Linked DNA regions of Homo sapiens: region 2 is linked to region 1. Evidence: promoter capture Hi-C in 16 types of primary human blood cells and fetal thymus (Javierre and others, 2016). All regions are on one chromosome and are shown on one strand. Each heading gives the region's core, a stretch centred on a gene start or on the middle of the fragment in contact. The rest is flanking DNA. Distances are from core to core; before and after follow the strand shown. Region 1 holds the start of SAMTOR (S-adenosylmethionine sensor upstream of mTORC1). Region 2 has its middle 31 kb from the start of TMEM168.

What was found. The method cuts DNA at HindIII sites, captures the fragments that hold promoters and counts their contacts. A CHiCAGO score of 5 or more calls a contact.
Region 2: a contact is called between a fragment that was not itself captured here and the fragment with the promoter of SAMTOR in region 1, in 1 of 17 cell types (total CD8 T cells). The highest score is 5.2, in total CD8 T cells.

What each region holds. Positions count from the first base shown.
Region 1 is chr7:112,937,762-112,941,844 of GRCh38, forward strand. SAMTOR (S-adenosylmethionine sensor upstream of mTORC1) reads right to left here and starts at 2,114. Exons shown (of 5, transcript NM_152556.3): 1 at 1,830-2,114. The coding sequence starts at 1,989. RefSeq lists a silencer at 1,943-2,042 and enhancers at 2,072-2,588, 2,243-2,582. The HindIII fragment of the contact is 2,363 bases long and covers 866-3,228 here.
Region 2 is chr7:112,757,138-112,761,220 of GRCh38, forward strand. No RefSeq gene overlaps it. Among named protein-coding and RNA genes, the nearest start is that of TMEM168, 31 kb to the right of the region's middle. The HindIII fragment of the contact is 6,868 bases long and covers 1-4,083 here.

The DNA.
Region 1 (4,083 bases), core at 864-3,363:
CAGAAGCATACTAGATCATTCACTTATGAACTCCATGTATCTATTCTAGATCTGGTAACTTCCGATTCTCATAAACAAGAGTTCCTGTGGTTAATACTCAGGCTTAAAACATGGTTAAACATGTGGGAACTAAGCACATATAAACAGCACTTGAAGAGATGCCACATTAGTGTGTTAATTTGAGTGGAACCTATTCATTTATGAATAAATGAATAATGAAATTATTAAAAGGTAAAAATAGAAATGGAATTCTATGCTAGTCATTTTTCTCTTTAGAAAGATGCACTTAAATTTGTACAAAATAGCAGGATAAATTGCAGGAAAATGTGTCCATTTATTTCCTAATCTCTCCAAATAACATAAAATCTACAGTGAATTCCATTATGTAAGAGCATTCTTTGAATATCAAGAATGATGCAGTTGTTGCTATGGTAACTACTCATTTTATTGACTAAATTGTGGGTTTGGGTAGCATTCTTTCAAAAAACATATTTTACCATCCTAAGTAGGTCTGATAAGACTCTTTCTATTGCTATCTGTTAAACAATAACTACAAGCCCCATTTGGGGATGATTAAACAGCCTCTATTAAAAGCTAAGCTTGATTTGCTAAGGAAAGAAACCTTTAAAGTTTGAAAAATGAAACATATCAACTACATTCAAAAGAACAAAGGATACTTAGTTTTAACTTTCTAGAGTAGTTGAAACGTGTGTATAAATCAACAGTAACATGATCTTACCTGTCTGTATTCCTTCACTGCCATAATTTTCCTTCTAATCCTAAATTATTAACTAAGTATAGGACTAACACCAGAAGGCTGCTGACTTTTCAGTTTGCAATTAAGCTAAAATGAGAACCAGTGGAAAGCTTTCCTCATTTCGATACTCAGGAGAAGTCTCTCTCCCAAGCCTATGAAAACAGAATTTTCACTGTCAAAATCTTATAAAACAGCTGTGTACAAAAGCCTATATTTAAAGATATCAAGGATAACTGTAGACTCCAACTATAAACACTCTTCAGGCACAGGCAAAAGCCACTAAGGCTTCTTCCCCTATGAGCTTCCACAGAGGGGGTTCTCACCGGAACCCCATCCATGGAAGCCGAGGGTGGGCTTTATCGGCAGGTGTCTTTAGGAGGCTTCCAATACAAACGGTATTTTCAGAACCTGCCCAGATCTCTTCCTCATCGCCTAAATAAACAGTTAAGACCAAGTATTTAAGAAATGGGAGTGGGGGCCACGAGTGTAGCCCGCCCCCTTTTAACAATGTGAAGTCCAGTCAGCTAAAAGGCCTGCTGGCTTCCCAGCCCTGGAAGCCAATGCGAGGAAGGCTCGGCATGGTTGTAGGAATGAAGTACTAGGAAGGGGGTCTGATAAGGAAGCAAATGGTACAGCCGGTAGGTCAAGCGTAAAGGAGGGACAACTCAGGTTTCTTTTCGTCTTTTACAAATGGATTTTACCTGTCTTGTTTTACCTCGGCGTCTCTTGCAAAAAGCGACCCCCACCTCCTCTGTGAGCGTGTATGTGTTTGTGTGTGCCGAGACAACAACCTCAGCACCCCGGCTGGGGACAGGGGCTTGGAGGGGGTGGGGACTCAATTCCTTTACAGGCCTAGAACTCTCCCGAAGGGCCCTCAAAGAAAAGGGGGCGGGGAGGAGCGCGTCTGATGCCGACTAGGGGGCTCAGACCAGGCCCGGGAGAGCAGCAGCGGCTGGGGGGACGTGCAGATCCTTTACATTTTAATGGTGGCCTCTTTGGAGGAGGGAAGAGGTGACAAGCGGTTGGGGGTGATGAGGCCTCCCCTTCCTCCCTCACTCAGCGCGCTGTTTACCTTCTCGGTACTTCTTGCGGAGCCGCCGGTGGACGCTCTTCACCACACCGGAGAGCTTCTCCTGCTCCAGTTTCCGCTCCTGCTCCCGGGGCGGCGGAGTGTTCGGGGACCCGGCCCTCTGCGCACGAGCAGTATTTCGGCCGCCGGCCCCTGGCTCCATATCGCAGCCGCCGCCGCCGCCGCCGCCCCTCAGGCCCCCGCAGACGCTCCCCAGATGGAGGAGGTGGGGTAGGAGGAGGGAGCTGCGGAGGCAGCAGCCAGAGGAGGCAGAGGAACCGGAGCGACAGCCTTGGAGGTGGACCCTCACCCAAAAGTGCAAACTGATTGGTGGATTTTGAGGGCTGGGCGGAAACGGAAAAGGCTAAGGGCCAATGGGCAGAAAGCGCCGGCGGCGAACCCGGTTGTTTGGGAAGGCGAGCAGCTGGAGGAGGCGGAGCTTGCGGGGATAGGGAGGCTGAGGCAGTGGGAGCTCCAGGCCTGGGTGCTCATCTCTTCCCCACCCTCCCCGGATTCTGTGCGCAGGCGCTGTGGCTCGGCCTCGGGAGACGAGCTGTGAGCAACGCGCTTGCGCGTCTCAGTTTGCTTAGTTTGGGCTTTTTTACAGCTCGGCTTTCTGATGTCTTCCATCATTTTCATCCCCTACACTTTATAATCTGTTGCGATGCGGCCAGGGTGCTCTGCTTGAACCTCCGCTGCACCTTGTCACATGTAGGTTCCCTTTAGTTACTTGCGCTTTGAGATGACGTTACACTTCAGGGACCTCAAGCACACAAGCATTCTAAGGCTCAAGGAGAGGTCTGGCTACCAAATGCTAATTTAATTCTCAGGTCGACAATGGTTTATGCCTGCAGTACTACTGCTGGGCAAAGGACATAGAAAATGCGAAAAGGAGAGGGCCAAGAAAAGCAACAGGAGATGCAGGAGGACAATAAGGAACGATGGAAAACTCACAGCAGATGCCCTCAAGAACTTTTGTAGTGACCACGGTGTTAATAAGCAGCCTTCCCTGATCTTATTCGCATCAGCACTCTGAGCTTTTATGGTCAGCTCAGGTGACCTCCTGTCCTTTAATTTGGAGAGTTAGTCTATGCGGAGTGTATCTAAGTGGGTTTGGTAACCTGTTCACCCTCCTCCACTTCTTTTCCATCTCTTGGGGAACGCGATTGTTGACTTCTGTCCCAGAAAGGTGGAACACTGCTCTCTGGAGAGAGGTAGACTGCATTGGCTCCTGAAGTGGTACTGAGGCTGCTGGAGTGTCAGAGATTGAATAGACTGAGAGCCCCTAATGAGTTGTGTTGGATTGTGTACCACTTCCCCATTGCAGGTGTTGGTTACGTGACAGTCTATGGAAATGATTGCAATGGTAACATTTTGATAATGATTTTCTAACTACGAATAAAGCTTGCATTATGTAACTGTTTTATATGCTACCTTCTTTATATTGAATACGCTGAAGAGCAAAGAATTATACACACTGTCTAGGACACAGGAGAAGCGGGAGGTGAAGGGAGATTGATGGAATTTAAAGGCGGAAGATGTGTCCCTACAGCACAGTGAAGAGACAGATCAAACACAAAGACAAGGACATATAAACTTCAAAAGAACTCCTTATAATTATGAAGAGAAGTTAAGCGGAAGTGCCTAATAAATTGAAAATATGGTGGTCTTATTTGGGGGAATTTCATTTGGGAAGAAAGGGGAGCTTGAATTACATGTCTCTTTTGGCTCTTTCCATATTTTAATACATATGGAAGGCAAATAATGGTGCAGATATTCGAAAGATACAATGATAGTAAAAAGAGCATTAAATTTCACTTGTGCTGAACTGTAGTTTTATTTTTTAAAAAAGAACTTTTCAGCATAATACTAGCAAATGAACTTTTAAGGCCTCTTAACTGAAGATGTTCACTGAAGGAAATTTGGAAAATACAGAAAAGAGTAAAGAAAATAAGACATCTGGACTGAGAGATAACAACTTAACATTTTTTCTTTGTTTGTATATACTAATTTCAAATAGGATATTTCTTGATGCCTATGTGGCAATCTATTGTATGAATAGCCTACTATTTCATTAACCAATTCCCAGTTATTGTAGATTTATGTTTTTTCCAGCTTTTTTGTATTACAGATAATGTCATGACAAACACATTTGCACACAAGTATTTGTCCATTTCTTTAATTATACATTCCATCAGGCTAAATTCCTAAAAGTTCAATTTCTGAAGCAAAGGGTCAAACATGTTAGGGTTTTGAT
Region 2 (4,083 bases), core at 742-3,241, 180 kb before region 1:
AAAGGTAACTGAAAGAGTGGTAAGTCAGACAAAGAAGAAAAATGCCAAAGAAGAGGGTCAAGAACAACTCATATGACTCCGAAATCCCTTACCCACATTGGAGTTATAAAAAGTTCAGGAGCTGGAGACAAAAGGCAGGTTCATAAAGAGGATTCCTTGGAGAGAGTTGTTATAATGCTGTGAGTACCCCCACTGGGAGGGGGTAATGGGGTGACTACCCCTCCCCTCAAATCCTAGTGGAAAGGGATTTAATTGGGCCCTCAGAGATTGGTACATGGCCCTGCAGTTGGCAGGCCCAGTGCACTGGTGTTGATTCTTGTCTGTGAAACCAGAAGGACCACAGCATTGGCCAGGCGCTGAGAAATGAGTTCAAGAGGCAGCTGTGGATCTGCATGGGTGCCCAGACTTGCAAGGGCAAAGGTTGTGAGAGGGTTTCCCACAGACCACAGAAGGCCATGAATAGAGTGCCAGTATATGGCCATGGGAGGTCCTGCCCATGAGGGCCACCTGGAACAGCAAACCGACCTCAGTACAGAGAAGCTAGGGTATCAAATGAATTCCTAAAAGCCATGGAAAGAGTAAGGTAAAGAAGCAACTGCATACAGGTGGGAGATCCCCAGTATCAGCAGTATTAGTGCAGGATGCCACTGTAAACATCAGAAGATGCAGTCTGCCGGAGCCAGGTTACCATGGCCCTAGTGAAGTTCAAACTCTTCTGCCTTCCTTATGCCTCTTTCCTCCCCTCCACCTCTCTTCCATCCCTTGAGGGGTCAAAGACTGCAAGCTGAAGAAGAAAGAGAAGAAACGAAGCAGCTATCCCTATTTCCTTCCCCAGCTAGAGGAGTTAAGAGTAGTTGTAATTTTGACGAGGTTGGAATCTTTGCCCTTTACATGGAAATGGTCATTCTCATTACTACAGTGAGACTGTATCTTCAAAACATAACCTGGAAAAAAAAAAAAAAAAAGAAAGTTTGAATTTTCAGTCAACCTGCCAGAACAACCATACCTACCAAATTTAAAGGAACAGTGGGAAATACAGTTGCTTTATAACTACACTTTGTAAGTCCTGATTATTCATCAGACCAGTTGCACTACTCTACTTCAGGAAACAAAAAAAGTGCACAGCTTTTCTCCCTTGCTCTTGTGACTTCTCTGTACCCTTTGCCATCTCGAAATCCCCATTGCTTTCATCTGGTTTTTGTCCCGTCGTCCCAAGGCTGAATTATTTCATTCTACCTAACTCCTGAGTGATATTCAATTTAACAGCTTGCTTGGTTTTCATTTCTCTCTCTCTCCAAGGGGCTGTCTTGGCTCTTTGCTCCTTTGGGTTCCACACACCTGACCAGCTAAGCTCCTGGGACACCATATCCCAATGTCAGACCCCTCTCACTGTCCAGGAGTAAGGGAAGGGAGTAATTACCTAACCCTAACAAGAGGATTGTTCTTCCAAACAACAAAGCCAGGTTAACAACATTCAATTGTAAATGATACATTGGAATTGTGCCTTTTCTACCACACTGGATTAAATAAACTTGTCAAAAAAAAAAAAAAAAAAAGGTTAGGTTATTACTCTTTTTTTTTTTTTTTTGGACTGTGACAGTAGTTTAGTTCCTTGGAGTTTTTAGCTTTTCTCCAATTCTGACACTATGACCAAATCAGACATCTTGATGTATTTCAGGGTTTTACTGCTGAGCGTTACCCTCTATTTGTGATCAATAGGTCAGCCAAGACCCTCACTCCACATCCCATCCTTGGCTGCACCTACAGCTTTAGTAGTCACTTCTAAACCTAAGTATGGACCCTTGAGTGCAGCAGACTGCCAGAATGTCATCCTTTGACTGAAAAGTGACTTCCAAGGTAGCTGTTTCAGCCCATATCTTTCAGAGCTGAGATCTGAGCTCTGGTCTGGTGTAAACAAAACATTTTACTCTTCTGAAGCTACTGAGCCTGCCTCTCCAAATGTAACAGGAAGCCTGGTACCCTGCAAAGCATTCTCTTTCAGAAATTCTAGATATCTTAGGCATCAAATTCAAGGGGGCAACAGAACACAAAGCATTTCCAGTCTGAAGTCTGGCAGAAGATGCAAACAGGTGTCTCAAAAAAACCCAAAGATTTCCTGAGCATCTAGGGCTGAGTTTTGGGTCTGGTGGCTCTGCTGGGAAAGAGCTGGCTGATGACCCCATGAAGGGGATGGTAGGAGTAGGTCATGGTTCCCCTCACTGTGGAGTTTAGGTCATTTCTCTGGACTTTGTGTGGAATAACCAAGGCCTGAGGATGGAGTTCTTCAAAGGTTCAGGGGGTGGGAGTGGTGCCCCTTGACTGTGAAACTGTGTCATTCGTAATGAAGCAGAACTATCTATTCTACCAGTTACTGGATAACACGGAATGAGAAGAGTCCTGCATATTAACTAGCATAGCTCCAGAATCCCTACTCTTTCTGAATTGATAAGCCTCACTTTGAGGACAGAAGGCCATGTGGGGACCGCTCTTACTGTTTCACAGATGTTGGCCATGCAGCTCTGCTTACAGCTCTGCTGAAACAGCACTACCTGCAATGGGCCAAAAAAAGAAAAATCACAAAACAAAATGGTGCATGGTTTGCAAGGGGGCTGCTTACTTCACCCCTGGACTTCATAGCTCCGATCCTATTTTGCAGCACTGCCTGGGTAATAAGCGTTTTCCTATGATGTTTTGGCAAAACTAGAGTGGCAAGCAAGTTCCTGCCTTTGGATTAAAGAGATACTTAGTGATGCCACATAGTTATGTAGCCCAAGCCTTGCACTCTAGACCTACCTCCCCACCAGCTGTAAGGCTCTCCCCTCTACCTGCCATGATCCTCCCATCTCCAACATGTTGTGGTAGGGATCAATAACATAAAAAGTCAGTTAAGCTGTTATATTCATTAGTCACTGTCCATGATTCTCTACTCTCGAGTATCTCTCCTGAATGCAAACCTGTGATTCATAAATAACATGGGAAAACATTTTTCATGCCAGATTTATGCCACCAGCACGATCTATTCTCCCTGCTGAGCCTTGCTTCACTTGTGACTAACATGTTTTGAGACCAGCATGTATTTTGAACCCACGTAGAACTGGTTTTAAAAAAACACATAACATTTTCAGAGATTTACAAACAGTTCTAAATGACAGGAAGGTGATTGAGATGAGGAACAGCTAGAGATTTTGGAAACAGGCTAATCACAAGGCAATGAAATCAGTATACAGAAGTACTTACCACAGTGTTAGAACCTAGCGAACAATAAGTAATAGCCATTGTCATTTTTATTAAGTTGTTTCATGAGGAAGGAAAGAGAGGAATCCAAAGGGTAGGTGTTGTAAAGAATACCTCTTCTAATTAGGTAGGAGAGAAATAGGAGAGAACGTGTATCAATACACATGGATGTAGATTACAAATTTAAATCCGTATCCTGTATTTTCCTTACCAATACCCAAGTGTGTAGAACAAATTATGTATAAGGACTCTGAAGGCAGGCCTGATATGCTAACACAAGGAATGTATCCTTTATGGTGAAAGTTATATGGAGTATAGACAGATTGTTTTGGCAAAAATATGGAAGTTATATTGGAGCAAAATGAGACTTGAGACAGGAGAATAAAAACAGTTAACAAGCTATAACAATAACTAGTGGAAAGAATGGTGAGGGCCTTCATAGGGTAAAGGGAGTAGGAATGGAGATGAGGGGATGGTTATATAAAATACTAGATAGAGACTAATGGGATGTGGGTAACGAGGAAGAGGGAGAGTCAAGGATAAAGCCGAAATTTTCGTATGAGTAATAAAGCATGAATGGTACCATCCACATGTACATGAATAGAGGGAACTAAGCAATTTGGATGAGACTCTACTGATTTGAATTTAAGTTTGAGGAACCTGTGAAATAAGGTGTTTAGGACATGACTGAATACATGTACCTGGAGTGCCAGAGATGTCTAGGTTGGAGATAGATGTTTGAGAGTAATCAGTGGAATGTGTTATAGCTGAAATCCCAGGTGTGAATGAGATTACTGAAAGCAGGAGATGGAATGAGCACAGAAGGAATACAAGAAAACCCAAAATATA